7 separate regions of the Homo sapiens genome follow, and regions 2, 3, 4, 5, 6 and 7 are each linked to region 1. The links are contacts of gene promoters, found by promoter capture Hi-C in blood cells and fetal thymus (Javierre and others, 2016). All regions are on one chromosome and are shown on one strand. Each heading gives the region's core, a stretch centred on a gene start or on the middle of the fragment in contact. The rest is flanking DNA. Distances are from core to core; before and after follow the strand shown.

Evidence for each region. Contacts are between HindIII fragments. The CHiCAGO score rates a contact against its expected background, and 5 or more counts as called.
Region 2: a contact is called between a fragment that was not itself captured here and the fragment with the promoter of KBTBD8 in region 1, in 4 of 17 cell types (M0 macrophages, M2 macrophages, M1 macrophages and 1 more). The highest score is 13.8, in M0 macrophages.
Region 3: a contact is called between a fragment that was not itself captured here and the fragment with the promoter of KBTBD8 in region 1, in 1 of 17 cell types (M1 macrophages). The highest score is 5.2, in M1 macrophages.
Region 4: a fragment that was not itself captured here is called in contact with the fragment with the promoter of KBTBD8 in region 1 in 2 of 17 cell types (M0 macrophages and M1 macrophages); the score reaches 7.8 in M0 macrophages.
Region 5: a contact is called between a fragment that was not itself captured here and the fragment with the promoter of KBTBD8 in region 1, in 1 of 17 cell types (endothelial precursors). The highest score is 6.5, in endothelial precursors.
Region 6: a fragment that was not itself captured here is called in contact with the fragment with the promoter of KBTBD8 in region 1 in 7 of 17 cell types (naive CD4 T cells, total CD4 T cells, total B cells and 4 more); the score reaches 8.5 in naive CD4 T cells.
Region 7: a fragment that was not itself captured here is called in contact with the fragment with the promoter of KBTBD8 in region 1 in 5 of 17 cell types (naive CD4 T cells, activated CD4 T cells, total CD8 T cells and 2 more); the score reaches 9.2 in naive CD4 T cells.

Annotation. Positions count from the first base shown.
Region 1 is chr3:66,995,792-67,000,210 of GRCh38, forward strand. KBTBD8 (kelch repeat and BTB domain containing 8) reads left to right here and starts at 2,516. Exons shown (of 4, transcript NM_032505.3): 1 at 2,516-2,580; 2 at 3,190-3,400. The coding sequence starts at 2,565. RefSeq lists enhancers at 2,174-2,273, 4,237-4,336 and a silencer at 2,614-2,933. The HindIII fragment of the contact is 2,180 bases long and covers 2,480-4,419 here.
Region 2 is chr3:68,986,924-68,991,342 of GRCh38, forward strand. It overlaps EOGT (EGF domain specific O-linked N-acetylglucosamine transferase), which reads right to left. Exons shown (of 18, transcript NM_001278689.2): 11 at 2,002-2,094; 12 at 1,583-1,654; 13 at 1,372-1,458; 14 at 522-590. Among named protein-coding and RNA genes, the nearest start is that of EOGT-DT, 24 kb to the right of the region's middle. The HindIII fragment of the contact is 3,818 bases long and covers 433-4,250 here.
Region 3 is chr3:68,959,078-68,963,496 of GRCh38, forward strand. No RefSeq gene overlaps it. Among named protein-coding and RNA genes, the nearest start is that of TAFA4, 29 kb to the left of the region's middle. The HindIII fragment of the contact is 6,744 bases long and covers 1-4,419 here.
Region 4 is chr3:68,916,763-68,921,181 of GRCh38, forward strand. The region is part of intron 1 of TAFA4 (TAFA chemokine like family member 4); the gene reads right to left. Among named protein-coding and RNA genes, the nearest start is that of TAFA4, 14 kb to the right of the region's middle. RefSeq lists an enhancer at 2,184-2,786. The HindIII fragment of the contact is 5,451 bases long and covers 1-4,419 here.
Region 5 is chr3:68,899,839-68,904,257 of GRCh38, forward strand. All of the region lies in intron 1 of TAFA4 (TAFA chemokine like family member 4), which reads right to left. Among named protein-coding and RNA genes, the nearest start is that of TAFA4, 30 kb to the right of the region's middle. The HindIII fragment of the contact is 5,376 bases long and covers 1-4,419 here.
Region 6 is chr3:68,869,108-68,873,526 of GRCh38, forward strand. All of the region lies in intron 3 of TAFA4 (TAFA chemokine like family member 4), which reads right to left. Among named protein-coding and RNA genes, the nearest start is that of TAFA4, 61 kb to the right of the region's middle. The HindIII fragment of the contact is 7,699 bases long and covers 1-4,419 here.
Region 7 is chr3:68,058,275-68,062,693 of GRCh38, forward strand. All of the region lies in intron 2 of TAFA1 (TAFA chemokine like family member 1), which reads left to right. Among named protein-coding and RNA genes, the nearest start is that of TAFA1, 56 kb to the left of the region's middle. The HindIII fragment of the contact is 2,159 bases long and covers 172-2,330 here.

The sequences.
Region 1 (4,419 bases), core at 1,266-3,765:
TAAAATAATAAAGCTCTAAGTGTCTAATTTGAACTAAATATAGGACCTTCAAATATTCTGGTTCAGTTTTTCAGTTTCCATCCTTAATTGATTTTACTTTAAACTTTAAATATAGGAGTAAATTGCAATATAGTACTTAATACCTTAAGATGAAAACTGGTTTACTTTTGCTGCTCTTTCCAGATGTGCAGTAGATTCAGGAGGTTTTTACTAAAATTCAAATTAGAGGTGTTTGAAAACAAAGCTGTAACCTTTGGCTATTTAGTATCAATCCTGAAAAGGAATCTCCCCAGTATTCTTACAGATCATTGAGAAAGAATTGTTGTGGTACAACTGACTGAATTTCGAGATCCTCCTACATATTCTGTGTTTTTTAAAAATGCATTTTAGTGATGATTAAATCTTTACTATGTAATGCCATCTGCCCAGTAGAATGGAGTCCATTTACAGTGTCATATAAATGGCAACTTTTTACCTATAATTTTTTTTCTATTTATTTTTAGATTGGCTTTTGTTCTTTGTATTCTGCTGCATCTCCAATTTATAAATCTTTGTGGGTCAAAGAATCAGAACACTGTCTTCTCACTAATCAAACAATATTGTCAAGTCTGTTTGTTACTAAGTTGAGAATTGAATTTTTAAAAAATTGGCCAAGTTTCTTAAGGCTTAAATAGATAGATGGCTACAAAACAACAACAAAGCACAAACAAAACTCCTCTATTTTAACAGATTTGAAAAGGTTGCCAGATAAAATACAGAACACCCAATTAAATTTAAATTTCAGATAAACAACAAATGATATTTCAGTTTAAATATTTCTCAAATAATGCATGCCCTGTATTTTTATTTGCAATATCGTCAGATGTTGTCAAACCCTAAGGATTAACGCCATTTTTTTCCTCAATACTAACCATATTGTCATAAAGTGCTACCATTTTAATAAATTAGAAAGCAACATCATAAAAACGAAAAAATAAAGTTATGAGTAACCAAAATTAAGTCAATTTCATCTATCCAGAAACGTGCATACAGGACATTCACAAAGAAGAAATTATAAGTGCATATGTATATGCAGAAACCCCAGTCATGAGGAAACACCACTTCCTGTTAACTTGCATGGGATTATAGTATTTTAAGTTCTAAATTTCTCAGCAGACCTAGAAGACAGAACTGAATTGTTTTTCATAATTATTTCTCTTTCTCAATCACAATTTAAATTCCAAGATCCTTTCTTTATCAAGAAGTTCAACGGTTTGATCTTTTCAGTGCTAGAAAAGTTATGCACACGGGCTAACTATATGTCTACTAGAAATTCTTCCCATTCGCTGATACTTCCTTACATTTTAACATCTAGAAATAGCATTCCCAATGTTAGCTCATTTGCACCTTACATTTATTTTTAAAATATGAAACATCTATAATGTGCCAGGCACCCCGTTAGATGTTAGAAACACAAGATGAGTAAATAAAAATTCGTCAACAGTAAAATTTTGATTTTCTTTCCAAAAGGTTGCAGCCTATGAAATCCATGGAGTACGGATTACTATTACTTCACGTTACAGATGAAGGATCTAAGCGCTCAGGGGTTGAAAGGTCTTATGTCAGTTCTCACATATAGTGACTAAAGAGCCAGGGCTTCAGTAATCATCCCTGGCTCCGGGCTCAGGGCATTCCGGTATTTTTTCAAAGGAAATTCCGGAATACTTAGTATTGTATCCCCTCCATTTCCCAAGAGCAAAAAGTAAAGCATCTTGGATCCCCTTGTAATGTTCACGTGAGGAACAGGTGTTCTCTGGGTGTGCTAGAAAAGCAAGGCACCAGTGGGAGTTGAAGATCCTAAGCAGCCGCTGTAACCAGACCAAGTTAATCTGTGGAAACCAGAGCACCCGGCCAAGGCGATGCTATTTCAATTGGGTGTCATAGGTGACTCATCAGAGACGCCTTGCTTTTGGGCCTTGTGATATTTTTCTTCAGGGTGGGACGTCAGATTTCCTTTGCATTTTTGGACAACAGCCCTCCTGTCCATTTCCACATTTTTCTGGTTTTACAGCTCTCACGCAGAGCTTGATTTCATACCGGAAGCTAGTCACTGGCAGGAAGTTTACGGAAGAAGAAAAAGGTAAAAAAATGTGCCGGGGGCCAGGAGAGAGGCCTAAAATGGGGAAATTCGCACTTGAAGAGCTTTCCCTACCCCAGCCCCTCAGAATGACAGTTCTCCTCCGCCAGAAGACTACCTCTCCCGGCAGGCACTGCGCGCTCGACGGCCACAGGCTGGCCAGCTCCCTGCTCTCCACCTCCATCCGAATCAGCCAATAGGAATTCCCGGCTTGGGCCTCCGCCCGACCCGGACCACGCGGGAGCCGGGGCAATCAAACTACATTTCCCGACACGCATGTGCTCGCGTCGTGGCCAATCAGCGCCAGGAATTCGGAGGCTAGGGGTGGAGCCAGATGCACAGGACACCCCATTGGCCAGGGGAAGCTTAGAAGAGCCGGAACCCGGGAGCTAGAGAAGCGAAATGACATTTCCTTTTTAAATAGCTGGAGTCGGGGCCCCATCGAGAAATGGCCGCGTCGGCAGGTGGGTCGTGTGGTGGCCAGGGCGGCGTGGAGGGAGGTGAGGGGGAAGGTGGGCCGGGGCCGGCCACAGGCAGTGGGATGAGGACGTAGCGGTGCGGAGCTAGAGGGAAGGATGAAGCGGTGGAGGGGAATGAGAAGAGGGAGGATGAATGGTGCGGAGGGCGGTGGGCGGTCCGGCGGGACCGGGATGGGGAGGCTGGGTACCCGCCGGCGCTGCGCCCCAGGAGGCAGCGGGAGGCGGCTTGAGGGGGCACCGGCGGCCGCCGTTGTTCGAGCTTCCCTCGTGAGGCTCTGCCCTCGGCTCTCGGCGGAGTCCGCGCAGACGCCTCTCCTGGGCTGCGAGCGCGTTTCCTCCGCGAGCACGGGTGCCGGGCTCGCCGGGCTCCGCAGGAGCAGGCTGGCCTTTGAACTTGTTCCGCCGATCGCGCTCCGCCCTCTGTCTCCCAGATCCTTAACTCGCGGTCCCACGAGGTCGTGCGTATATCCACAGACATTTGTATATATCTTGTAGGGGGAAAAAGCCTAGCAAGCAGACACACAAACAGAAAAATCCCGCGATGCCGTAACTGGCTCGGCACTTCTTGTAGTTGTACGATTTTTCTCCTCCTAGATTTAAGTAAGTCTTCCCCAACACCGAATGGGATTCCATCTTCAGACCCAGCCAGCGATGCCATGGACCCCTTCCATGCTTGCAGTATTCTTAAGCAACTCAAAACAATGTACGATGAAGGACAGTTGACAGACATTGTAGTGGAAGTGGATCACGGGAAAACATTTTCCTGTCATAGAAACGTTCTTGCTGCAATCAGCCCTTACTTCAGGTATGATGATGGTAGGAACTTCTGTTGGTATCTGCACCAAGCTCCCTTTCCCCCTCAGTATTGTCCACTTGATGTTTATATTGAGATGCGATAATGAAATGAAACCAATGACTTTGTTTCTTGAGACTAGAAAACAAGTCCTCTCTTAACTAAGACCTTCTTTTGACTTGAGGGATTCTTCTAGATTTCGGGTGATTGCTTTTTAAGTTAGTGGGCCTGTGTGTGTGTGTTTGAGGTAAATGACCAGAAAATCTAGACTTGTGCTGGTCAGTATGGAAGCCAGTAGCCATGTGTGGCTGTTTAAACTTAAATTATAAGTTAAATAAAATAAAACATTTAGTTCCCCAGGTACACTAAATACTTTTTGAGTGCTTGCTGGTCACCTGCAGCTAGTGGCTGCCATATTGGGCAGCACAGAAATACAGCATTTTCATCATTGACAATTTTATTGGACAGTGCTGATCTAGAATTTCTTTCAAAAAGTTATCCATAATGCATGTTTCTTTAGTGTATGGGACTCTTTTATAAAATAGTTTAAAACATGTAGCATGTTCCTTCAAAAACAAATTACCACTCAATAGATTGTTTAAATGCTATGGGGGTCAAAGCAAGAATGAATATAGTTTCTTTGTGCCTAAGGCCCCAAATTAATAATATCCAAGATTTCTAGAAGTATGTTAAACGAAGTTTTTGTTTTTACTTATATTGTCTACTATAAAACTTTTAAAAGTAAAATTTAAAAACTTGGGTCTGAAAAATAACTTCCTACTTTAAGATGAGTGGAAAAGGCAGTTTTCTGCATGGGCTTAACTTCTTTTGTGTCAAATGCTCACTTTAAGCCTTTCAGTATTCACAAGTGGTGCATAAATAATAGTAAAGTTATCAACCACACTCTGAATGTGATTTTTCCTTTTGAAGGTGCTTACCTTTATAGGGCACATAACCATATAATGTTCCAACAGTAGTTTCTGGTTCCTCTTTCTCAGAATACTGGGTTAAATATAGTCACTTCAGTCTGA
Region 2 (4,419 bases), core at 1,092-3,591, 2.0 Mb after region 1:
CATGATGTTGTAGGTAGTGGCCTTGCATGGTGATCTCATTGAGGTTAAATGTAATTTATGAGTTGGTGCTACTGAAATGAGTAAGGATGCTGAAAATGCAGTTTCTAAGACATGGTCATGTAAGAGGACAGAGATTCTTCCAACTAAATCTGCTGCTGATACCACAGGATTAATGGCCTCAACCATCTGTTGCATCAACTATGCAAAAGAAAGTCTTACATTTTTGCTACTTGTCTGTCCGGATGCCCTCTACTGCAGTCAAGGCAAGATTCTGACAGCTTTTTCCATGCTGAGTTGATGCAGATGAAATTTACTATAAGGCAAAGCTAGTTTGTCTATGGGTGGTTTGGTGAATCTCACTAGAAATTCAAATCTAATAAATAAACCGGGCATAGGCCATCAAACTTTTCTCAAAACTAAGTTTTAAACCAAAGCTTTTAACGTAATGTGAAAAAAAAAAAAACACAATTTGCTCTATGAATTGAATATGAAGGCATTAAAAATGCATACCAAAAACTAACCTCATTTTGGTTAAGGATTTTCCGGTATTCTGTGCTCCGTGCAAGAATGGTGACTCGAATTTTTCCATCCTGTAATCAAAATGAAACGGTAAAATAACACTGCATATGCCTGGGTAGATGAATGAACATCTGAACCCAAAATGTGATTTTCACAAAGAGATGAAACTCAACCAGGATACATTAATAGAACTCTTCTTTTTTAGCTTGATTCCTTCACCACTCTCAGGGAATAAAAATGTATCCACTTCAACCACCGAAGGCAAAAACCAGCTCATTACATTGTCTGTTTGGTTGGGTGGGTGAATTTTTTGGCAGGGGTTGTGTATGTTACATGAACATTTGGGGAGGTGAGGGAGATATAACCAATGAAGGGGGAAAGGAGGACAGGAGGAAGCACATTCTTGTAATATCCCTTAGCTTCTCTTTTATAGGTTTTTGACACCTGGTTTCAGATGACTCCAGGTCAGAAAATGTTTTTGGGTTTTGTTTTGGGGCAGTCTTGCTCTGTCGCCCAGGCGGGAGTGCAGTGACATGATCTTGGCTCACTGCAGCCTCTGCCTCCTGGGTTCAAGCGATTCTCATGCCCCAGCCTCCTGAGTAGCTGGGACTACAGGCACATGCCACCTCGTCCAGCTAATTTTTGTATTTTTTGCAGAGATGGGGTTTTGCCATGTTGGCCAGGCTGGTCTTGAAATCCTGGACTCAAGTGATCCACCTGCCTTGGCCTCCCCAGAAAATGTTAACACAAAAACATGGTCTCCTGATTATTTCTGTTTCTGAAAAGGTGGTATCGATTTTTATTAGGGAAGAAAACTCAAGCCCACCTCAGAATCCGCAGTGTATCCATTACCTTAGGTCCTTCTTGTGTGATGTTTAGTCTGTGTAGTACATGCTGGGCAAATGCCCTGAATAGTCCAGTATTTTGACAGCCAGATATCTAAAATAAAAACACTGGTTCATATTACAATGAATACTTCTGTATTATAATTTAAGATACTGTCAACTTATGTATAAATGTTATGTCTGTAAATATGAATGCTAATGGTAGACAATGTGCTTACCAGAGGAGTATTATAGAACAGCCCATACCTCATGCGGGGGAGTAATGAAAAAACAGCTTCTTTAAAACATACCTAAGAACAAAGATACATTAAAAGAAGATGTAATTTGCACCCTTCACACCAAAAATAGCACGTATAATTTTGAGAAATAGATTTTAATTAATCTCCATTTTGCATTGCTTGAATAGCACACTATTTCATTCAAAGAGAACAGAATTCATATTTTTGGAAAGATTATAGAAAAAACTTTTCAAAGGCTGCATGATTAACAACACTGAGGATTCTAATTATAAAAGAAATTCAGAAATTCAGAAATCAGTGGTAATGGCTAATAGGAACTCATAATAAATGTTTATTTTATGAGTGAGTCATCTGCACTCAAGAAATATTCACAGACATTTCAGGAAAATTTCCAGTACCCTTTTGGAATCATAAGTTTTCAAATGTATAACGTCATAATCAGTAAATGCATTCCATGTGTCGGAGAATAGGTCACCATATCCGTAAGAACTCTGAAAGTAGAAACAAAACAAGGTTTTAGGGCAATAAAAGGATATAACATGACTTTTCAAAGATGCAACAAAATACCTGAATTTGCCTGTGTTAAAAACTAACAATCCTACGCAAGTTCATAAAATCCATACAAGCAAAATGGATCTTCATCTTGGGCCAGAGCAAATGCCTAATTTGATGAAATATCATCAGAAATAATTATCACAATTATACTCTTAGCCATTAATAGTGTTTCATTTTTCTACCTTAACTTCTTTTATTCTCACATCTTTGTAGTTCAGGGCTTTTTCCTGTGAACATCTTATCCAAATTATAGATACACACAACACACACTATGCCACCGTTTACACACACTCTTATGCTCAGTGTGCAAAAACCATCAGGGTGAATGAAAAATCTTTGGAAAAAAATTTCAGAGCAAGAAAATGGGTTCAAAGTTTTAACACTGGCTGGGTGCGGTGGCTCACAGCTGTAATCCCAGCACTTTGGGAGGCCGAGGCGGGCAGATCACCTGAGGTCAGGAGTTTGAGACCAGCCTGACCAATATGATGAAACCCCATCTCTACTAAAAATACAAAAATTAGCCAGGCATGGTGGCATGTGCTTATAATCCCAGCTACTCGGGAGGCTGAGACAGGAGAATCACTTGAACCTGGGAGGCGGGGGTTGCAGTGAGCCGAGATCATGCCATTGCACTCCAGCCTGGGCAACAAGAGCGAAACTCCATCTCAAAAAAAAAAAAAAAAAAAAAAGAAAGGTTTAACATTAAAAATATAGGCTGGTCACAGTGGCTCATGCTTGTAATTCCAGCGCTTTGGGAGGCAAAGTGGGAGGATCACTTGAGCCTTGAAGTTTAAGGCTGCAGTGAGCTATGATCATGCCATATACTCCAGCCTGGGCAACAGAGCAAGACCTTGTCTCTAATAAAATAAAATAAAATAAAAATATATAACATATGTAATTCTATGAAATATCCCCCCACCCATTGACTAGTGAATAAAAAGTGGTAATTTCCCATTAATATTAATGGTGTCAATAACAACTTTATATAATAATAATAGCATCTTACATACTTCCTATGTTCCAGGCAGTTTTTTTGGGCACTTGATATTATTAATGTACATTAAGCCACCCACAAGCCTAATGAGTTGATAATATCATTTTCTCTATTTTGCAGATGAGGAAACTGAGACACAATTTTAAGTCATTTGCCTACATTGCGAAGCAGCTGAGTTATAGAGCTGGTATTCAACCCAGCCTGTGCTGCCACTTCCATCTGACAGCTGCCTTTCAGCAGGAATTAGTTCTTTCCAGTATAATTACCACATGCTTTTTTTTTTTTTTTTTTTTTTGAGACTGAGTCTCACCCTGTTGCCCAGGCTAGAGTGCCATGTCGTGATCTGGGCTCACTGCAACCTCCACCTCCCAAGTTCAAGCAATTCTCCTGCCCCAGCCTCCCGAGTAGCTGGGATTACAGGCGCACGCCACCACACCCGGCTAATTTTTGTATCTTTTGATAGAGACAGGGTTTCACCATATTGGCCAGGCTGGTCTCAAACTCCTGAGCTCAAGTGCTCCGCCTACCACGGCCTCCTAAAGTGCTGAGATTACAGAAACCACACCCAGCCTGATTTATTTTTTGAAAAGTAGTTGATTATGAGCTCCATTAGCTAAGAAGATCAATTAATTTTTAAATGGTTTCACTTAGATTGAAAAATTCAGCCAATAGAAATCAGAAATATGCATTGTAGCACTACATTCAAGCTCTACAGTTATACATTATGTTCATGTCTCTTTTTTATAGCATTCTTTTCTCAGATTTTGAAAATTTTATGTTGCACATATTACAGTTATTTCAAAGTTATTGAGATCTGTTAGATGTGAAAAAAAAAAAAAAAAGCCTTCTTTCCATGTTCCTCCAATGCCATTCTAATAAAGGCCCTTCTCAACACCATCTAAAATGAAATGTCCCTGTTCTGGCTCAATAATAAATAAAGGGCAATTAAAAGAAGTGATTCTAGATGGTTTCCTGAGATAAAATACTTCAGATAAAATAAAATATGTTTGAAAGGAAATTTTAATAATAAAATACAGTAATCCTGACTGATCCTTCCTCAGGGAAGTCATACATTATTGAATAAGAACCACCTCCAAAAGCTTCTTTTCCATGTTTCCCAAGTCCAAATTATCCACCATTTGGGAAGGAGGCACTTCTTCCTATACTCATGTTGAAGAATATTTGGATAGTCTTCAAGATGACATAAAATTTCCTTTAGTGTGTCTCAAATTTAAACATGCACATAATCTATGACTTAGAAATTCCA
Region 3 (4,419 bases), core at 748-3,247, 2.0 Mb after region 1:
GTTCTGTCTCTTCCTCGTCAATCTTCTACTGATGTTTCACTTCCCCAAGTTCTTATCCTATTGCCTAGAAGCAGAACACTGACAAGTGACCACCACCATCAGACACTCACGTCCTTACTCTCCCCCATGCCTGAACGTTGGCTGTCTGTGCTGATGCTCCTTCATCATGTATATCTTACTTCACCCATCTTTTTCAAATACATCTGCCACATTTTCCATCTTCATCTCTCCCAGCAGCTTCTTAAGCCCCCACATCTTTTTTTTTTCAGGCTTGAAATTTTTGATATTTTGTTTTTTTTTTTTTAATTTCAATAGTTCTTGAAGAACAAGTGATGTTTGGTTGCATGGAAAAGTTCTTTAGTGGTGATTTCTGCGATGTTGGTGCATCTGTCACCCAAGCAGTGTACACTGTACCTAAAGTGTAGTCTTTTATCCCTCACCCCCCTCCTGCCCTTCCCCCTGAGTCCCCAAAGTCCACTGTATCATCCTTATGCCTTTGCATCCTCATAGCTTAGCTCCTACTTATAAGCAAGAACATACGATGTTTGGTTTTCCATTTCTGAGTTACTTCACTTAGAATAATGGTCTCCAACTCCAACCAGGTTTCTGTGAATGCCATTATATTGTTCATTTTTATGGTTAAGTCCCTACATCTTATTACTCCACTTTTCAATGCTCCTGTGTCATTTACCTATAAAATCTGAATTCCAATGATGATAATGGCAATGATGATTATTTAGATTATTTAAATTTTTTCATCACTTTGATGTTATGTTATCTTGAACTATCTCCTATAATCCTTGTATCACCACTATGATGTCTAAGTATCTCATTTACAGAAGAGGAAACTGAGACTTAGAGAAGTCAAATGATTTTTCTGAGGTTCTATAATTAATCATGTTTTCCAAAGATATTCTGATAAGGCTGGATCAAAAAACTAAACTGGGATCAATCTGTCAAAATCACCTTTCCGTACACTAAAATATTTATGAATAAAATGATATGTCATTGAGAATTTCCTTCAGAATAATCCAGTGCAGGAGGGAGTGGAGTATAGATAAAATAAGAGTGACCATATATTGATGACTTGTGAGTGAGTGATGGGTATGTGGGCGCCCATTGTACTATTCACTCTACTTTTGCGTATCTTGGAAGCTAACCATATAAAAAGGTTTTGGGATTTTTTTGTTTTGTTTTGTTTTGAGACAGAATCTCATTCTATCACCCAGGCTGGAGTGCAGTGGTGCAATCATGGCTCAGTGCAGCCTTGACTTCTCGGGCCCGTGGATCCTCTCTGCTCAGCCTCCTGAGTAGCTGGGACTGTAGTCATGCCAACATGCCCGGCTAATTTTTTCATATTTTTTGTAGAGATGGGGTTTTGCCACGTTTCCCAGGCTGGTCTCGAACTCCCAGGCTCAAGCAATCTGCTCACTTTGGCCTCCCAAAGTGTTGGGATTACAAGAGCAATCCACTGTGCCTGGCCCCTAAAAAGGTTTTTTAATGTCATCTTTTTTATGCAATTACAAACAATCCAAGTCCACTGATCAGTATTGCTATTCAATGTTTGTAGATAATTTTGAAAATGTTTCATTATGTGTCTAGGTTATAAATATCTAACATAAGAAGAGCACTTCAGCTTTAAATACAAAGGTCCCATTTTTGTCACACAAGTTTTTTTTTTTTGTTCTAAACCTCTATGATATGCATTGCATACTTACCTTAGTGGAAGAAACAATTACCCAAGCACTGTGTCCAACTGCATGGTGTTATCTTTTAATTAACCTGTGTAGCCCTTTTTACTTAACCTAGTTTGAGAAGTGACAGCCACTGAGCTGTCTAAATAATGTACGCCACTGCTCTTTTATTTGATCTATTCAATCAAAAACAATAGTTCCTGGTGTGTGGTCCAGCCCTGTAGAGCTAGATATACTTTCTATTCAGTCATGATCCTTGTCTTGTACATCAGCGTTGAAACTTGCCTTGCTAACCAGAGTATTTAGAATTGTTTCAATATAGGAAACCAGATTGATCCCATATGTGAAATCTTTTCCATATTTCACACAATATTTTGTGTAAAAGCTATTCTGCTACTCTGCGTCCATCAACTTAGAATATCCAGTGAATAAGGGGGGGGTAATTGGATGCTCACATTTCTGCTGAGGGGTTAGATTAAAAGTGCCACATTGGCTGGGTGTAGTGGCTCACGCCTGTAATCCCAACACTTTGGGAGGCCAAGGCGGGAGGAACACCTGACATCAGAAGGTCGAGAGCAGTCTGACCGACATGGTGAAACCCCATCTCTACTAAAAATATAAAAATTAGCCAGGCATGGTGGTGCATGCCTGTAGTCTCAGCTACTCAGGAGGCTGAGGCAGGAGAATTACTTGGACCCAGGAAGTAGAGGTTGCAGTAAGCTGAGATCACACCACTGCACTCCAACCTAAGTGACAGAGTGAGACTCTATCTCTCAAAAAAAAAAAAAAAAAAAAAAGTGCCACATTTCTGGATGGAAATTTAAATTTATCAATATGTGATCAAATCCCTAAGAGTGTGCATGCCCTGGAACCCAGTAGTGCCATATCTAGGAATTTATCCTAAGGAAGTAACTGGACAGATGCACAAAGATTTTTATGCAAGGATATTGAGGGCAGTTGTTTTTTTAATAGTAAATACAAAGAGTCTAACTGTCCAACAATATGGGATTGGCTTAATGAAATTATCCACAGAAATTTAAAATGTTGATGCAAATAATTGTATGGTAGTGGAGAGGTATTCATTAAATCCTGTTAGTAAACAGGTTATCCACAATATGCATTTAATGAATATATTATTATACATATACACAAACACACACCCACATATATATAGCCTCACATGAAAGAAGTTACCTCTACATACATATATGTGTGTAAAATTTGTGTAAATGTATGTGTTTAAGGGAGTGTTGTGGAGGGGTGTGTGTGCACAGCTTAAGTCAGGATGGAGAAATATGGTATCCTTTAGGTGATTTTTTTTCTAGCAGTATTTTTATATATTTCTATAATGGAATACTACTACAAGTAGTAGCTACATACGAAATAAAAAGGAACAAAAATAACAGATAAAACCTATTCTGTCTAAATGTGTTTCAAGTGTTCAGATAAAAGGCAAGTGAAACAACCTAGAGAAGATGTAAAAAACCTTTTGGGAGCATTGTTTCAATAAAGAAAAGCCTTTCCATATTAATTATTGAGTAGAAATGATGGAAAAGGTAATGGGGAAAGAAGCAGAGAGGAGTGAAGAGCCACCCTACAATTGGTGATAATTTCCCAAGCTGGGCCTGGGAGTTATAAGTGAGATGTGCTCCCCTCACCAACCAAACCAGTGAAATATTATAGCACATTTTTCTCTCCCTTTTTCGGAGTGCCAGAGTTTTTTGGAGTTCCTGTAACAGACCAGGTTTTACTTGCTGATCCTTAACAGAAATTATTTTAAGGTAGGTCTTCCTAAACTATGGCCCAGGGAGTGGGGGGTTCAATGTCTTGCCCAAGGTCATATAGCAGGCAATCTGTGAGCTGAGATGCCCTTCACCAAGGGCATGCCCTGAGATGCCGTTCGGGGCTCTCCATTTGCAAAGAGAAGAACCCAGGAAAGTGCAAAGAAAGTCATTGTCACTGTTACAGTGACCAAGACAACACCTTGGTAATGTCTGGATAGAATTCTCTGAAAAATGGGGACAATCTGAGTTGTACAGGCAGCAACTGAGGGACATTTTTAGGAACCAGAAGTAAGCATTTGTGATTGTAAATTATTCAGGCTAGATATTTACAATGAGCAATTTAGCTTCAGGCCAATATTAACTTCCATTCCTATTACTATCAGATTAATTGCATTTTGTTGCTTTTTCTAAATACATGTCAAATCAGGAAACCTATAATTCAGCAGTTAGTCATTAAAGTAGCAGTGGATCTGCAACTGTGTTATCTGAAGCCCTTCTAAAAAATAAAATAAAAATCCAGGGCTTCTTTTTTTGGTCTAATAAACAGAGCATTAATAAAAAGCAACTAGGATATTCTTCCTAGGATGAAATATGTCTAAATTGAAAAAGGCTTCAGATAAAAGAAATCAAGGCAAATAAACAAAAGATGATTGAAAGAAGTTGGATAAATTTGCATCTTAAATAATGCATCTATAGAATCATAGAAAATACAGTTGCAAATTGTCATTTCAAGATTATACAAACCATTTTATACATTTTATATACATAGTAGTTACAAAAATAAGTTGGACTTAAAGTGGAGTTAGTATTATCTGACACATTTCAAATACTTAAGTACTAAAACATCATATTTCCTATGCATTACAGAAATTATATGAAAATGTGTATGTGTGTATCTCTCTTCATTTTTCATTGTTCTTCATGATCTCATGCCTTTACAT
Region 4 (4,419 bases), core at 1,330-3,829, 1.9 Mb after region 1:
CCTCAAGGTCACTTCATAGCCCAAAATAGCTGTTGGAGAACCAACTATTACATCACATTCCAGGACTTAGAAAGGAGGAAGATCCAGAAAGGGCTCTACCCCTGGATTTTAGAAGACTCACTAGAAATAACCACCCAAAACTTCTACATATATCTCCTATGGCTACCCTGGTGAAAGAGAGTCTGTAAAACATAGTCCTGATTCTGTACAGCTTGTGTCTTACTAGAAATCAGGGTTCCAATTACTAAGGTAGGGGGAAGAATAGATGTGACGTACGTAGCTAGCATCTCTTCCACCCTGTATTGCATATATCCATTTTGTATAGATGGACCACCAACAATTAAATAATTGAAAGAAATGTAGAAATGTCTCCAGCATGGGCCCTTTCATCACCTAAGGGAAACTTCCAGAAGATTCCACCCCAACCTCTTGGAGGGCAACTTTCACCCCTAGTGAGGAAACACTGATGTACTTCTCAGATTGGACATGGGGGTGTATTGCATATTTCCTCATCAGGTTAATGTAATGACAGATTTCAGATATAAACAGCACCTCAACTGCACTTACTATGAGACTGTGGTGGTTCTACAGTTTGAGTTTTTAGGGCTTTAAAATCTCACAGGTGTTTCTACATCATCCAAGCTCAAAGCAGAATCAGAGACCTCCCCCCCTGTGTGTCAGTGTGGAACAGACTGAAAGTTCCCAGGAACGACCGGGCATGGTGGCTCACACCTGTAATCCCAGCACTTTGGGAGGCCGAGGCAGGCAGATCACGAGGTCAGGAGCTCGAGACCAGCCTGACCAATATGGTGAAACCCCATCTCTACTACAAATACAAAAAATTAGCCGGGCGTGGTGGCACATTCCTGTAATCCCAGCTACTCGGGAGGCTGAGGCAGGAGAATCACTTGAACTCGAGAGGCAGAGGTTGCAGTGAGCTGAGATCGCGCCACTGCACTCCAGCCTGGACGACAGAGCGAGACTCTGTCTCAAAAAAAAAAAAAAAAAAAAGAAAGTTCCCAGGAACAATGGTATTTACCTAGAACCAAGTGGGAAGGTAGAAACCTAAGCTCTGAATTCAACACTTCTGAGTTTTCACTCTGACACCCAGTTTGTGGACGATCAGGACAAGTTGGTAGATGGCAACGTGGCTTCTGGCAGATCTTTAGGAGTAATGATAATGTGCGTTTATACAATGAGCTGTAGTTTTCGAAGCATTTTCACATAGTCATCAATTGGAAACTCCCATCAGTACTTTATAGCAGGCCAGATCTTTGTAGCTTTGAGTAGGTTAGGGATTTATTGCTTAAGGTTTTCTCTCATGAGACAACATTTGAGACTTAAATAATGAGAGGAAGCCAGACACACATACACACACACACACACACACACAAACACATTTCACATTCCAGGGAAAGGAAATCAGGTACAGAGCCACCGAACAAGGAAGGAACACATTCACTGTATGGTAAGAAATGAGAGATGGTCAGTGTGGTTACCTCAGAGGAAGGGGGAGAGGTCGCAAATGACACTGGAGAAAAAATCAGCGCACTGTCAACCGTCATCCTCTGACCCTACTTCTAATGTAACTTTTGCTTGTCCTACCTCCAGATAGATTTTCAACATGGGAATCTTATCCATCTTCTGCCTCTGTCATCCTCACTCAATCTACTTCTAAAAATGTCTTTCAAGAAACGAAAAAGAAGCTCTTGTTTTCATTGCAAGCTATGTCTAATTTTAAAATATATACAAAATTCCTAAATTATAAAACTTCATTTGATTTTTATTTGCTCGAGACAGGGTCTTGCTCTGTCACCCAAGCGGGAATGCACTGGTGCAATCACGGGTCACTGCAGCCTTGACCTCCTTGGTTCAAGCAATCCCCCCATCTCAGCCACCTAAGTAGCTGGCACTACATGCATGCATCTAACCATGCCTGCTTAATTTTTGTATTTTTTTGTACAGACATGGTTTCACCATGTTGCCCAGATTGGTCTCGAACTTCTGGGCTCAAGAAATCTGCCCACTTTGGCCTCCCAAAGTGCTGGGATCACAGGTGTGAGCCACCATGCCCAGCCTCTTCCATTTGCTTTAAAACCAGATTTTTATAAACTTTCTGTAACCAGCACTTTCAAATTGCAATTCACTTTGTTTTTTAAAAATACCATATACACAGACATATACAGCATCCTATTTCCTGTATACCAAGAGTAAACCTTCAAAATATCCCTCTGTAAGAACGAAATTCCAAACCCCTGCCATAGGATTCACACTTAGTAGGCCTTCAATTCTGTCACCTTCCCTGCAGCTTCCCAAGTCCACTGCTTCAACCAGTTAGGAAAAACAATTTTTAAAAAACATCTTGGCATCCATCAACCAGCATTTTCAAGGGCAAGAAAACAGCAGCGCCCAAGGAGCTGTCTGAGGTGCTTAAGGTTAATGGCTGTATTTACATAGCCATCAATTCACTTTACAAAGAACTGCCCCAGTAGGACTGTGCAGCTCCAGCAGGCAGCCCCCGTCAGGACAGAGCAGACAGGAGTCTCTAAACAAGGAGGAAAATGCCTGATAAATCTTAATGACATCGTCTTGTTTTCATTCACTTACTTATCACCTTATTTTCAGCTCAAGAGTCTCGAGCCCCTGATCGAACAAAATAGACTACACTTCCATTTCTCCATGAGTCACTCTCTAAAACTTTTTGGGACTGTAGTAAATTACAATGGCCTTACCTTTTATGATGATGCATACCTTGCACCAGCGCTGTCCGATCGGGCAGCCACTACACATACATGGCTATTTAAGTTTAAAGCTAAATTAATTAAAATTAAAGAAAATTTAAAATTTGCTTCTTGAGTCACATTAACCACATTTCAAGTACTCAAAAGTGACATGTTGCTTAGTGGCTCTCACGGTGAACAGCAAGAAGTTTGGAACATTTCCACCATCACAGGGAAGTTCTATTGAAACATACAGGAATTTGTAAGATTCTACTTACAGATTTTATTGATAATGTCTAGGACTTGACCTGTTCTGGAGTTAACATATCTGAATTCCAAGAGAACATAATGATAAGAGACTTTCTGCAGTCCCCACGTTTTCCAGACACATTCCCAAGCCACTAGTGCATTGGTGTTTTTAATGCTCTAAAACACACCCTCTGACCAGGCAATTACACTTCTACCCTAGAAAAATGCAAACACATGGGTACCAAGAGATTGTAATTATGAGAAGGCTTTAAACAGTAAACACCACATCTCAGTTAACACCATATATGACTTTGTTCAAGAATGGTATCATCATACTCTCTGTAGTAGAAAAAACTGGGAAAAATCTGAATGCCCATCTGTAGGGAAACAGCTAAATAAAATACAGTACATTCATAGTGGAACACTATATGGTAGTTAAAGGAATGAGTGAGACCTGTGTATGTATAAACGTGGATAATCTCCAAGACACCAGTAAGCAAAAAAATACAAACTATAGAATCAGATGTATAAAATGACACTACTTAAGTGAAAAAATTCACACACAAGACTGTATATTTAGTAACCATACATAACTAACATAAATAGCAAAGTTTAATATATTTTGATATTTTCACATTATACTTTTTAAATAAAGTTAAATGCCAAATATGCTTCCTATTTCTGTTGATTAGTTGGCATTGATACAAATCAACTTCAAATGATAAGAGAGAATCTACCAGGTCTTCATCAGTCCATTCTTCCTGCTCATGTTTGGATTTCTTTGAAACATAATGTATACTAAATATTTTAAATATGCGCAGAAGCCCAAACTCTTCATAGTATCTGAGAAGGGAGAGATAGAAATGGGTTGTAGAGAGAGTTAGAAGTGATTTTTACTTTTTCTCTAATTTTTTTTTTTTTTTTTTTTTTTACAACTTGTGTATTCCCTGCAGGAGTTCTACAAAGTCACTGTGACCCTGTATTATGACCAGTGGCACCACTATCCCCTACAATGCAGCCTAAGTGGCTGTAATAACACTAAGCAGCCATTCCCAGCCAGCAGACAGTACCACCCACACATGCCATGTTCTACAGTAAATCAAAGACTATGGTTTTCTAAAAGCAGATATTGTTCTTAAAAAAATTAGGACAATTTTGTTGTTTGGATGCTTCTGCTGTTTAGTCTTCCATAGAAGCCATCTCCAGCAGGGCCTTCGTCTGCCACTCAACTTGGAAACCTCATCTTCTAACTGTCTGGGGTTGAGTGCTGGGGGGACAAAGGCCAAAAGGGTCGGCAGCCAGGGAGGAGAACTGTAGCATCTTGACAGTTGGGCAGAGATGACCAATGTGAAAACCTGCCGAGGGGACAACAGTGACTGATGGCTCCTAAGGAAGTATTAGTACAAACCTAGTCGCACGCAACACCCTGCTGCCCGCAAGAGGGGATCAC
Region 5 (4,419 bases), core at 516-3,015, 1.9 Mb after region 1:
AAGAAATGCATATAAAAACTCAGATCACCATAATATGCAGTGTAACATAAAAATTAATATCTGGAAAGCAAATTTATTTTCACCACCTAAAAGACATTTAACCTTTAATTAAAATAATAGGCCTGGCATGGTAGCTCACACCTGTAATCCCAGCACTTTTAGAGGCTGAGGCAGGGGACTGCCTGAGCTCAGGAGTTCAAGACCAACCTGGGCAACATGGCAAAACCCTGTCTCTACACACACAAAAAAAAAAAAAAAACACAAAAATTAGCTGGCTGTGGTGATCCCAGGTACTGGGGAGGCTAAGACATGAGAATCACTTGAACCTGGGAAGCACAGGTTGCAGTAAGCCGAGATTGCACCACTGTACTTCAGCTTGGGTGACAGAGCGAGACTCTCTCTTAATAATAATAATAATAATAATAATAATAATAATAATAATAACAATAATAATAATAATAATAATAATAATAAAGCTGCCTGGAAACCATTAATTCCATAGTAACTTTGGTAACTGGGGCCAGAAGGAACAGAAGCAATATAATTCCAATAGTATCCAGCTTTTTCCAGCCTTCCTGCCACAGGGTCTTTGCACATGGCAGTCCTTCTGTTCAGAGGCAAACACATTCTTCTGTCCTCCACTAAGTTAACTCCTACTCATCCTTCATATCTCAGGGCAAATATTACTGCCTCAGAGAAGCACTCTCTACTCACTAGCTAAAATCCCAAATTTTAGTCTTTTCTTCTTGGTACTCTCTAGAACTGCCTTTTTATACTCTCGTGAGAATTCCCTATCAAACTGGAGCTCCGTGAGGGCAAAGATCAGGCCTCTTCTCTCAGTATTGTTTCTCATCTCTAGCCCTTAACAGAGCAAGTTCAAAGCACTCAACAAATACTTGCTGAATCAATGAATGGATTTGAACACCTAAACTTAATCAGGCTATCCCATTTCCTTTACCTAATAAATTTGGTTTTGCAATCACAGTTTCCACCTTGCAGTGAAATTTTTAACCAAAGATACTTTCCTAGACATTGACCCAATTCACAACTACTGCTTTCACTAAGGAACATCCCCAGCCCCCATCAAACCTTCTAAGAAAGGGCAGGGCAGCATGGTTTGCTATGTAGTTCAGCCACCCATGGCTAATTCAAGCCAAGCCAAGGGAACTTTCCTCTTCCTGCAACTTAGAATTGAGAATGAGAAACAGCTAATAATTCCAGAATTAGCTGTCAAGGGAGAAATATATAAATTTAGGAGGTATGAGGTGGCCAGCTTTTCCTCATCCATGCAGGGGGTACAAAGAAAGCCAGACTTCACAGAGACAAGAGTGACACAGATGCACACAAAACAGAAATAAGACTAGAAGAGGATGATCCAGGTCCCTGAAGGTCATTCTATTTTTAGTTCCAAGACTTTCCTTGGCCTGCCTTTGTGCCTTCCCTTGAATTCCTCAAGAACTCCTACAGCTATTTCACTTAAAAAAAAAAAAAATTCTTATCTTTGCTTGGCCTCGCTGGAGTTCTGTATTGATCTAAATAGAATTAGCCCATTTCATAGATAGGAAGAAATGAGCCCCCAGAAATTACCTTCCCAAAGTTACAAAGCTAATTAGTTGTAGAGCTGGGCTTTATACCCAAGCCTTCTGAGACAAGGGAAACTCTGTCTATGCTACCCAATTAGTAGCTACTAACCACACATGACTATTTAAATTTAAATTTAACTAGGTAAAATTTAAAATCAAGTTCATCAGTTCCAGGAACGATATATCAAGTGCTCAATAGCTCCATATGGTAATATTGTCATATTGGACAGTACCGTTCTAGAACATTTATTTCTACTACTGCAGAAAGTTATATTGAATAGCACTAGATCCTTGAAGGATAAGCCCTCTCTATTTGTAAAATCTGAAACAAACTGCAAAAGCTGACTTTGGCTGATACCAAACACAGTGGAACACACTGGAAGGAGGGCAGATCTTGCCAACCCAAGGCTTGGGTTCTTGTCCTCACTGTTTACATCCTTTCAGTGGGCAAATCATTAGACCTCTCTGAACCTCAAGCTCTTTATCTGAAAATAGATTTGGAAATAACTACCAGGGTCCGTCCAATGTTCAAATGAGGCATGGTATAGTGAAGGGCTCTGTAAATTGCACCTGTACTAACAATAGTTGTTATCATTAATAACAGCAGCAGTTAAAATCATTTCTAGAGCCTATATAAGAACTCTGCTGTAAGAATTTTCAATGCATTAACTCATTTAATCCCCTCTAATGTACTTTGAGGCAGTTGCTATCAGTATCCCCATTTTACAAAGAAGGATATGTGGAGGCAGAGAGGTGATGTGATTTGTCCAAGGTCAGCTACCAAGTGGCAAAGCTAGAATATGAAGCCAGGTTCCCAAGTCTGCCCTCTTAACCATCGGGCAACTCTGTCTTTCTAAGATCTCAAAGCAGGTATTCCACAATCAATGCATTCACTCTTCCCTCTCTTTTACCCATACCACCATTTTCTTTCAGATAATACCTATATCATTCACTTTTTTTTTTGGAGACAGGGTCTTGTTCTGTTGTTCAGGCTGGACTGCAGTGGCATGATCATGGCTCACTGCAGCCTTGAACTCCCAGGACCAAGTGATCCTCCCACCTCAGCCTCCAGAATAGCTGAGACTACAGGCACATGCTAGCATGCCTGAAAAACTTTTGCATTTTTTGTAAAGACATGGTTTCACCATGTTTCCCAGGCTGGTCTCGAATTCCTGGGCTCAAGCAATCCACCTACCACAGGCTCCCAAAGTGCTAGGATTACAGTCATGAGCCACTGTGTCCAGCCTCATTCATATTTTGTATGCACACTCTAGTTACAACCTTGTCTTTTGGTCTTCCTCTATTAACATGTTTCCCTTATATGTATATATTTTTGTACATGGGTATGAGAAACAACCAGAACCTTATCAGACATGAAAACACTTGACATCCAAACAAGAAGCAGGCCTGTTCATCCTACAATATTATGCAAAGTAGCAATCAGCAAACAGATCCTGCTTGAGAAAACCTGACAACCCAAGTTAGTAAAATCACTTTCCAAAGTATTTTCAATCTAATAAGTAATTTCAGACATCATTGGTTCTCCCAATCAATGGCCATTTCTATAATAGACGAAAGGAACTGAAAAAATTAAAAAAAATCAGGGACAGGACTCTGGAGAGCATCCCAGCACCCTCCCTCTTCTTGTTAACATTTATCTGTCCTGTAACAATGGCAGGCACAGTGCTAGCCAATGCTTTTACTCAACCAATGTCTTCCTTCCTAGCATCTCTTGGTAGTCAGAAGCTGGAGCAAAGGGTCGCCCACCCACCTAGAAAACAGGAGCTTCAGCATAGGCTATAAAGCAACTGCCAGCCTCGAGAATGGGATTCTGAACCTGGGGTCCTTGCACAGAATCAGGGGTCCATAAACCGGGATGAGAAAAAAAAATGACATCTTAATATTTATGAGCCTCTATTTGAAATTCATCTGTTCCTTCAATTATAAACGTCAGCAACAAACCATTTAGCAGTTCCTATGACTTGGCCGCAAATAGAAATCATAGGTACTTTCAAATCTCATTAAAGTTTATCAGCAAGACCTCAAAATGTGTGTCCATCAACAACCTCATAATTATATGTAGTTAACAGGCTTGCTTGAAGATCATGTTGTTAAATGAATACAGAAGCACACATATTCTATATCATAAAATGTTTTAATGTTTTGATCACTACATTTCCATATAATGGCTTCCTTTGAAAGCCAGTGAATTTTGTTTAATGTGGGTTTTTTAAACTTTCATTTTAGGTTCAGAGGTGTATGCACAGGTTTGTTATATAAGTGGATTGTGTGTCACAGGGGTTTGATGTACAGATTATTTCATCACCCTGTTTTATGTGTTTTTAAAACATTATTATGAGACAGGATCCACTGGCTTCATCAAACTCCCAAAGGGACCGATGGCACAGAAAAGGTTCAGGACTCTCCATCCTCAGAGGTGACAAAACTATACCTTTGATGCGCAATATCACAGCTGCCTCCTCCCTCTTTCCTCCTTTCCATCCCATGTGAGCCTAACCTATAACCCATTAATCCTTCCAGAAGTTGGAAAGAAAACTGACAGATGATGCAATGACTTCTGTATAAGGCATACACCAGTCACAAAAGCACCAGAAAACTGTTGCAGAATGGTTTTTAGAAAGTTAAAAAAAAAAAAAAAACAATTTGCCATGTATAGAAAGCTCCATCGTTTCAAGTGCCTCTTGCAACCACTATCCTATAATGTATTCCAACTTGCTACTGTAGAAATGGCCTCATTATCCCCACAGAGGTCCTTCAGAAAGCCTATTTCAAAGCAAGCACCTCTGAAAGTTAGCCCACAATCTAAAAGCCTGTG
Region 6 (4,419 bases), core at 824-3,323, 1.9 Mb after region 1:
AAAGAAATGAATAAATTCCTGGACACATACAACCTGCCAAGATTAAACCAGGAAGAAATAGAAAACTCAAACAGATCAATAACAAATAATGAGATTAAGGCAGTCATAAAGCATCTCCCATCAAAGAAAAGCCCAGGACATGATGGCTTCACTGCTGAATTCCACCAAATATTTAAAGAACTACTTATAACACCAATTATACTCAAACTATTCAAAAAAATGAAGAAGAGGTAATATGTGCAAATTCACTCTACAAGGCCAGCATTGCCCTTACACCAAAACCAGATAAGGACACAATGAAAAGAAAACTACAAGCCAATATCCCTGATGAACACAGATGTAAACGTCCTCAACAAAACACTGGAAAACAAATTCAATGACACAATAAAAAGATCATTCACCATGATCAAATAATCAATGTCATCCCAGGGATGCAAAGATGGTTCAACATATGCAAATCAATAAACATGATACATCAGATTAACAGAATCAAGGACAAAAACCATACGATCATTTCCACAGATGTTTTAAAAGGATTCAACACAATTCAACATTCTTTTATGATAAAAACTCTCAACAAATTGGGTACAGAAGGAACACACCTCAAAACAAAAATGGCCATACGTAACAAACCCACAGCTAACATACTGCTTGGGGGGAAATTGAAAGACATTTCTCTAAGATCTGGAATAAGACAAGGATGCACAAATTTACCACTTTTTTTCAACATAACATTTGAAGTTCTAGCCACAGCAATTAGACAAGAGAAAGAAATAAAGGGCATCCAAATTGGAAAGGAAGAAGACAAATCATTCTTGTTCATAGATGACATGACATTACATTTAGAAAAGCCTAAAGATTCCAACAAAAAACACTGAGAACTGATAAGTGAATTCAGTAAAGTTGCAGGATACAAAATTAACATATAAAAATCCATAGCATTTATATGCAAAGAATCTGAAAAAGTAATCAAGGCACCAACATCATTTACAATAGACACAAGGAATATAAAATACCTAGAAATAAATTAAACCAGAGATGCAAAAAATCTCTACAAAGAAAACTATTAAACATTGATGAAAGTCAATGAAGAAGACACACAAAAAAAGAAACACGCCTATACTCATGGGTTAGAAGAATTAATATTGTTAAAATGTCAATACTACCCAAAGTGGTCTATAGATTCAATGCAATCTCTATCAAAAACCAGTAACATTCTTCACAAAACTTGAAAAAACAATGCAAAAATTCATGTGGAGCCATAAAAGACCCAAAATAACCAAAACAATCCGAACTGGACAAAAAGAACAAAGCTGGAGGCATCACACTACTTGACTTCAAAATATACTACAAAGCCATAGTAATTAAAACAGCATGGTACTAGCATAAAAACAGACACATAGAGCAGTGGAACAGAATACAGAACCCAGAAATAAATCCACACATTTACAGCCAACTCATTTTTTTAATTTTTATTTTACTTTAAAGTTCTGGGATACATGTGCAGAATGTGCAGGTTTGTTACATAGGTATACATGTGCCATGGTGGTTTGCTGCATCTATCAGCCAACCGTCTAGGTTTTAAGCCCGGCATGCATTGGGTATTTGTCCTAATACTCTCCCTCCCCTTGCTCCCCACCCGACAGGCCCTGATGTGTGATGTTTCCCTTCCTGTATCAATGTGTTCTCATTGTTCAACTCCCACTTATGAGTGAGAACATGCAGTGTTTGGTTTTCTGTTCCTGTGTTAGTTTGCTGAGAATGATGGTTTCCAGCTTCATCCATGTCCCTGCAAAGGACATGAACTCATTCTTTTTTATGGCTGCATAGTATTCCATGGTGTATACATGCCACATTTTCTTTATCCAGTCTATCACTGATGGGTATTTGGGTTGGTTCCAAAATCTCATGCCAGTTAGAATGGCGATCATTAAAAAGTCAGGAAACAACAGATGCGGTAGAGGATGTGGAGAAATGGGAATGCTTTTACACTGTTGGTGGGAGTGTAAATTAGTTCAACTATTGTGGAAGACAGTGTGGCAATTCCTCAAGGATCTAGAACCAGAAATACCATTTGACCCAGCAATCCCATTACTGAGTATATACCCAAATGATTATAAATCATTCTACTGTAAAGACACATGCACACGAATGTTTATTGCAGCACTATTTACAATACCAACTCATTTTTGACAAAGACACCAAGAACCTATATTGGGGAAAGGACAGTCTCTTCAAAAAATGGTGCTGGGAAAACTGAAAAACCATATGCAGAAGAACAAAGCTAGACCCCTATCGCTCACTATATACAAAAATCAAATCAAAATGGAGTAAAGACTTAAGTCTAACACCTGAAACTATGAAACTATTAGAAGCAAAAACTGGGGAAATGCTTCAAGACATTGGTCCGGGCAAAAATTTTTTTAGTAAGACTTTGAAAGCACAGGTCACAAAAGCAAAAATTTTCTGCATTGCAAAGGAAGCAATCGGCAAAGTGAAAAGATAACCTATGAAAAGGCCAAAAATATTTGCAAACTATCCATCCAACAATCAATTAATAAGCAGCATATATAAGGAACTCAAACAACTTAACAGCAAAAAATAAAAACCATCCAGTTTTAAAATGGGCAAAAGAGTTGAATAAACATTTCTCAAAAGAAGACATACAAATGACCAACAGGTATATGAAAAAATGCTCAGCATCACTAATCAACAGGGAAATGCAAGTCAAAACCACACTGAGATATCATCTCACCCCAGTCAAAATGGTTTTTATCAAAAAGACAAAAAATAACAGATGCTGGCAAGAATGTGGAGAAAGGAGAACACTCATACATCATTGGGGGAATGTAGATTAGTACAGCCACTGTGGAAAACAATACAGTGGTCCTTCAAAAACTAAAACTAAAAGGACCAAATGATCCAGCAATCCCATTGCTGGATATCTATCCAGAAGAAAGGAAACCAGAATATCAAGGAGATAACTATACTCCCATGTTTATTGCAGCCATATTTACAGCAGCCAAGATATGGGAACAACGTAAGTGTCCATCACTGGATGAATGGATAAAGCAAATGTGGTACATATATATATATAATGGAATATTATTCAGTCATAAAAAAGAATAAAATCCTGTCATTTGCAGCAATACGGATGTAACTGAAGGTCATTATGTTAACTGAAATAAGCCAGGCACAGAATAAATACTGCATGCTCTCATTCATATGTGAGAGCTTAGAAAAGTAGATTTCATACTGGTAGAAAGTTGATTGGTGGTTACCAGGGGCTAGGAAGGGTTGGGAGGAGGGAGAGATGAACAGAGGTTAATAGTTTAAAAAAATGCAGTTAGAGAGAAGAAATATGAGGTAGTGTTCAATAGTATGGTACGGTAACTATAGTTAACAATAATTTAGTTTTAGTTCAAAATAGCTAGAGAAGAGGAATCACAATATTCCCAACATAAAGAAAGGGTGAATGTTTGGGGTGATCGATGTTGCAACTGTCCTGGTTTGATCATTACACATTGTATATATGTATCAAAATATCACATGTACCCCAAAGATATGCACAACTATTATGTAGCAATAATAAATAAGAAAATGCATTAAATTCCAGACATAATACCAAGCTCTTTAGATAAATTGTCTCATTTCATGTCACAAAAATACTTTTAGGTAGGGGATGTTGTAATACTCACTTCCAGGAAGAAGAAACTGAGGCTCAGAGAGATTAAATAACTTTGCCCAGGGTCACATAGGTAGGACTTTGCAGAGAGAAGGCACAAGCATTTTGACTTCATGTTAAATAAATGCTTCCAAAGCACTTGACGATTTTTTAAGATAACGTGAACAGCTCCTTGGTAAATATATTTACACCATTTATTTGCTTAGCAAATCCCTTTTCATAGACAGCATGGGTAAATATCAGCCGTATCATCTCAAGGCTGATCTTTCATCACACATTCCATTACAAATTCTAAAATTAGTAGGGTTCAAACTTAGGTCTCAGTGACTTATAGAAACAATCCAGGTTCTGATGTGTCACACACCTATGAGGCATGCATCAGGCTCATTAGAAAACAAATTCCAGATCAGTACAACATAAGGTAGGAGAGGCTAACAACCTTGCTCTCACCTGGAGAGATCAAACAACGTCATACTTGTTTTCCAGGAGAAGACAAATAGAAACAGACACAGACACACACACAACAGACAGACACACGCAGACATACACACACACACACACACACACACACACACACACACACACCCTGGGCCAGAAAAATGCTGACCTAGCCATTCTGTGAATGTTTCCAATTTCTAGATGGTATCCTGAAAGCAACTAACTAGACAAGTAATTCATATTAATAGCTGCTCTCTCCCTTTCAATTTGGGTATTATTTCCTATTGGATATGTTT
Region 7 (4,419 bases), core at 1-2,500, 1.1 Mb after region 1:
CTTATATTGTTGTTATAAGCATTGAGCAAGATAATTTAGAAAATGCATTTAAGAGAGTTCCCAGTACATAATAACAGCTCAAAAACATTGACTATTATTGCAACATAACAATAATGATCTTTATTTTGTGATGATCTCAGTTTATAAGGTGTTCTCACATATGGGTGTTTAAGCTTGAATCAATTCTGTAAGATCATTTTCCCCTTCTCTCCCTTACCATTTCCCAGATAGACACATAGAGTCCTGGGGAGGATAATGAATGTTCACAAGATCTCTGAGTTATTAATAGACATAGCTGAGATTGACTTCTCAGTTCTTCACTGCTGAGTCAATTTTGAAAATATAATAAGTTTCTAAATTCCAGAGGTAAAGAAAAAAATGTTCTTAAAACGATACACAAAGCCACACACATTTAGTAATGTCTCTCAGAAAACAACTGGCTGCTGCTTGTTGAACAGAGTTGTATACTGATACCTGTTTTCAGACGTGTAAAAGCTATAGTTTTATTATTTTTAAATGAATAGTCCATAGAAAAAGGCTTGTATAACGTTTTCTATGGCTGCTGTATCTTTGGGTTCAGTCCATAACTATTTACAAAGATGAGCTCTGGTGGCAAGGCAAAAAAGGGTTGTAAATTGGGAGGTTTCAGGATCAGAAGCCACCCAGTGATTGCTGAAGATGAGACCAAATTGTGGAGATATTTGCTATTATATATAAAATTCCCACATGATAATGAGTAATAAGTTATTTTTTCTATCACTTTCATGGTATAAATGATATCAAAGCACTTCTTTACTGCCTCTTCAAACTTTCTCCAGGAGCTGAGAAGACATATTGGAGAAAATTTGTGTGAACAGCCTGGAGAAGAAGACCATACAATTGGAGGACTATGACTTATATGTCATTTATAATAATAGTAGCAATAGCAAATGCTCGTTGGGTGCATGGAAAGTGCCAGGCACAGCACTAATCACACACTAATCACACACACGCATGCACACACACACACACACCAGAAATGTTATATATATATGAAACATTTGTTCCTTATAACAACCCTGGAAAGTAGATTCTATTATTTGAATGCGTAGATGAGGAAACTGAGACAGAAAGGCTAAGTAACCTCCTCAAGGTCACAGAGTTAGTAAATGGCAGAGATGGGAATTGAGCTCAGGGAGCCAGGCTGCACAGCCTATATTCTACCTACTAATAAGCTACCCTGGAAGGAACAGTACCCATCTCTGAGAGAGCAGAACACAGGACAGGTGGGTTTTGAGAGCAAGAGGGGGAATGCTGGGTAGAGAGTGCAGATGCAGGTAAGGGACCACAGCAGTATCTTGACCTCTACAGTAAGAAAGGGGCACTCAGTGTGTGTCTGCACAATGACAGAGGGGCCTGGGATATAGGGAGCCAATAATGAATAGTCTTTATCTAGTCCACAGTTTAGCCAAGGGCCAGCCCTAGCTAAATGAATTAAAGAATCAGAGAAAATAAGATCTTTTGTAAAAGTGTGCTTGTTTGATTTACTGACTCATTTGGGAATTATTAACCCAAGTGCCAGGGTGGAATGAGCATAATTGTTTTTACTTAGAAGAGCACCTAAGCCTAAATTGCTGGGTGCAAATAAATCTATTCCTGGGAGGCAGCTGGGGAGCCCCCGCAGGCTTGTTCCTGGCCTCCTCCTCTGGGGGCTAGAGGAGCCAGCTAAGCACACGGCATTCTTTAGGCTGAAGTGAGAATTTACTCCTGAATGCTAAAGGGGCTTGCTCCATGTATAATCAAGGCTTACTGAAGGAAAAAAAAAACACACACACACGCACAAAAAACTGGGAAGGAAAATTTATTTTTGATGCCTCCATATTTTTCTCTGACTTATGTGCCTCATCACCTCAAAAGTCCACCATTGCAACTGTGTGTGTGTGTGTGTGTTTGTGTGTGTGTGTGTGTGTCTTTCAGAATCTCCTTTTTCCCTCTGGGGATGTCAACTTCCTAAATTGCCAGTGCCCTCACAATTTTTCACAATCCCTGTCTTCCTCAGCCTTCTCCTGTGGCACCACCTCCACACAGCAGCTTCAATTACATGGTTTCCATGGGTAGAAACAAGCAAAGGCAGACACTGGCCATAAAACTGACTGATGCAACTTCAAGTTAGCCTGGGGCAGATATTTTTAAAGAACATTGTTTTAGGCCATAACACTTTACCTTGACGGAGTGAAACTAGGCCGGTAGAATTTCAGGCAGAGAAGCGGACAGGTGTGTGGACTATTCTAGACCAGCAAATGAGATGGTGGGTCCTTCTCCAGAAATCCTTGCATCATGTTTTTACAGTAAGCTTCTTGTTTGCTTATGCATAACATTACTCTGGCCCCTGTGAATGTGGAGAAACTGGCCTCCATGTCTCTTGGGTCAGTCTCTGTTGAGCTGTGGGTCTTTGTCATGGATGTCACGTACATATACCTTAGAGAAAAGATAAAAGAGTTGGAGGGGTGGGCTTGAGAAAGGCTGTATAATTTTATTGAGCAATATTTCTTCTTTAAATGGGCTCATGGATAATTCAATTAGCTGGCTTTTGATTGCTCTTGTTAGTGGTTAGGCGCTATATAATGAAAATATGGATTTGTTCAAGTCTCACCATCACAAACCAGCTTGTCAGGATGGATGATTCAACAGATCCACAGTGGGTGTGACATAGGTTCAAGTGTGTACTGACCATATTCCTCTTTAGCGTGTGTGTACTCTCTTTCTTGCTGGCTCTCTCTGGATCTCTTTCTCAGCTTTGTTTGGAGATGGAGCTAACAGTTGTAGAAAATAAATATCTGCCTAAACCGAGTGGACAGCAGCCAATGAGAATACTGTGAAACTTCCCCGTGGAAAGCTCCATGACATGGCATATGCGAGTCTGTCTCTCTCATTGATGCTATATGCAGACGGTATATATCAGCTAGAAGACTTTGAAAAGGAGATTTATTAAGTGTCAGGTTGAGAGTTGTGTTTTCATCTTGATTATGAAAATGATATATAATTTTAAAAACAATTATGGTGCTTGATAAATTTCTCTGTTTGTATAAACTTCCCATTTCAGGAATTCTACATGTAATTCAGTCTGTGTGTCCTGAGAGAAGTCCTGAGAAAGGAGACCGAGTGCATTCAGCATGCTAGAATGATTTCTCCATGAGAACAGGTTAAAAGGCATAGTGGGAATCAGTGCAGGGATACAAGGTCTGAGTAGGAATGGCATATACATCCTCAGAATTAAAGAGGGTACAGGCAGGATGAAAATACACTTGTTTATCACATCACTGAAAGCTGGGAAGGGGGATTTGCTTGAAGCTTGAAAGCAGTGATTTAAGACCAGAATCACAGGTGCATTTTGCATAGGTCATAAGCACTATTGATCATGTGCAGTGTCTTGAAAGGGAAGTAGATTCCAAAAAAGAGCAGATATGTACATGAAGAATAAAACTGTAGTTGACGATTAAAGGTACATTATGAACACTCAAGAAATGTCTCTATTTTTGAGGATGAGGTCATCTTTCTCCACAAAACACCCTTCAGGAAAGGAGGGGGAGGTTGAACCACTGGTGCAGCATGGTTTCTCTCTTTTTGTGTGCCCTGAATATATCACATTTATCCCTCATCAAAGAGAAATTTTTCTTTTTATTGGGAAATGTAGAAGTGATACCTCAAACGATATGGTTTTTGTTTCCAAAGACATGGTAGGGGGTTCAATGCTTCCAAAAAACATATACTAGACATAAGTATGTGGTATTTTATTTTAGATGCTATCAGTTGATCTTTTGCTACTACATTTCTAACAGCCAAAACCTCTTAGTGACTATCACTTATTTTTTTCTTTAATAATCTTATTTTTGTGTAGACTAAGTAGTCTCAAACCAAGCTATTTCTGGGGTTGGGAGGAGGTAGGTAATATAGACTATCAAGGTGAATCAAGGGCACCGCAACAGGGGATGGTGAGGACTGCAGGAAACTGAAGCTCCTATGCTTTTGTTAAGGGAGACTTCTGCTACTCAGTTTCAACCAGTAGTTGCCATATGGGGCTTCAGGCCCAATATTGTGATCCTAGGCAAATCTTTCAAAGAGATGCCACAAACATGGTCAAATAAGCAAAGTTTTTTTGTCATTTAAAATAATGCGCAGGTCCTGAAAGACTAGTTCATGACTTCTGGAGAATAATTTATTCTTGGGAAAGTGAACACCAAACAAATAAACAGCAAGAACAAAGCATGAATGAAACAAAAAGCAGGTTCTTGACCAAACCAATGAAAATAAAATCAACAAGGAATTGTGACTTCCTATACATATGCATGACCCTAGGGTTTTTCCAATGGAAAAGTCTAAACCATAAGCTGAAATTCCTATTCTCTGCTAGCTGCACATCAAGAGTGGAGACAAATATTT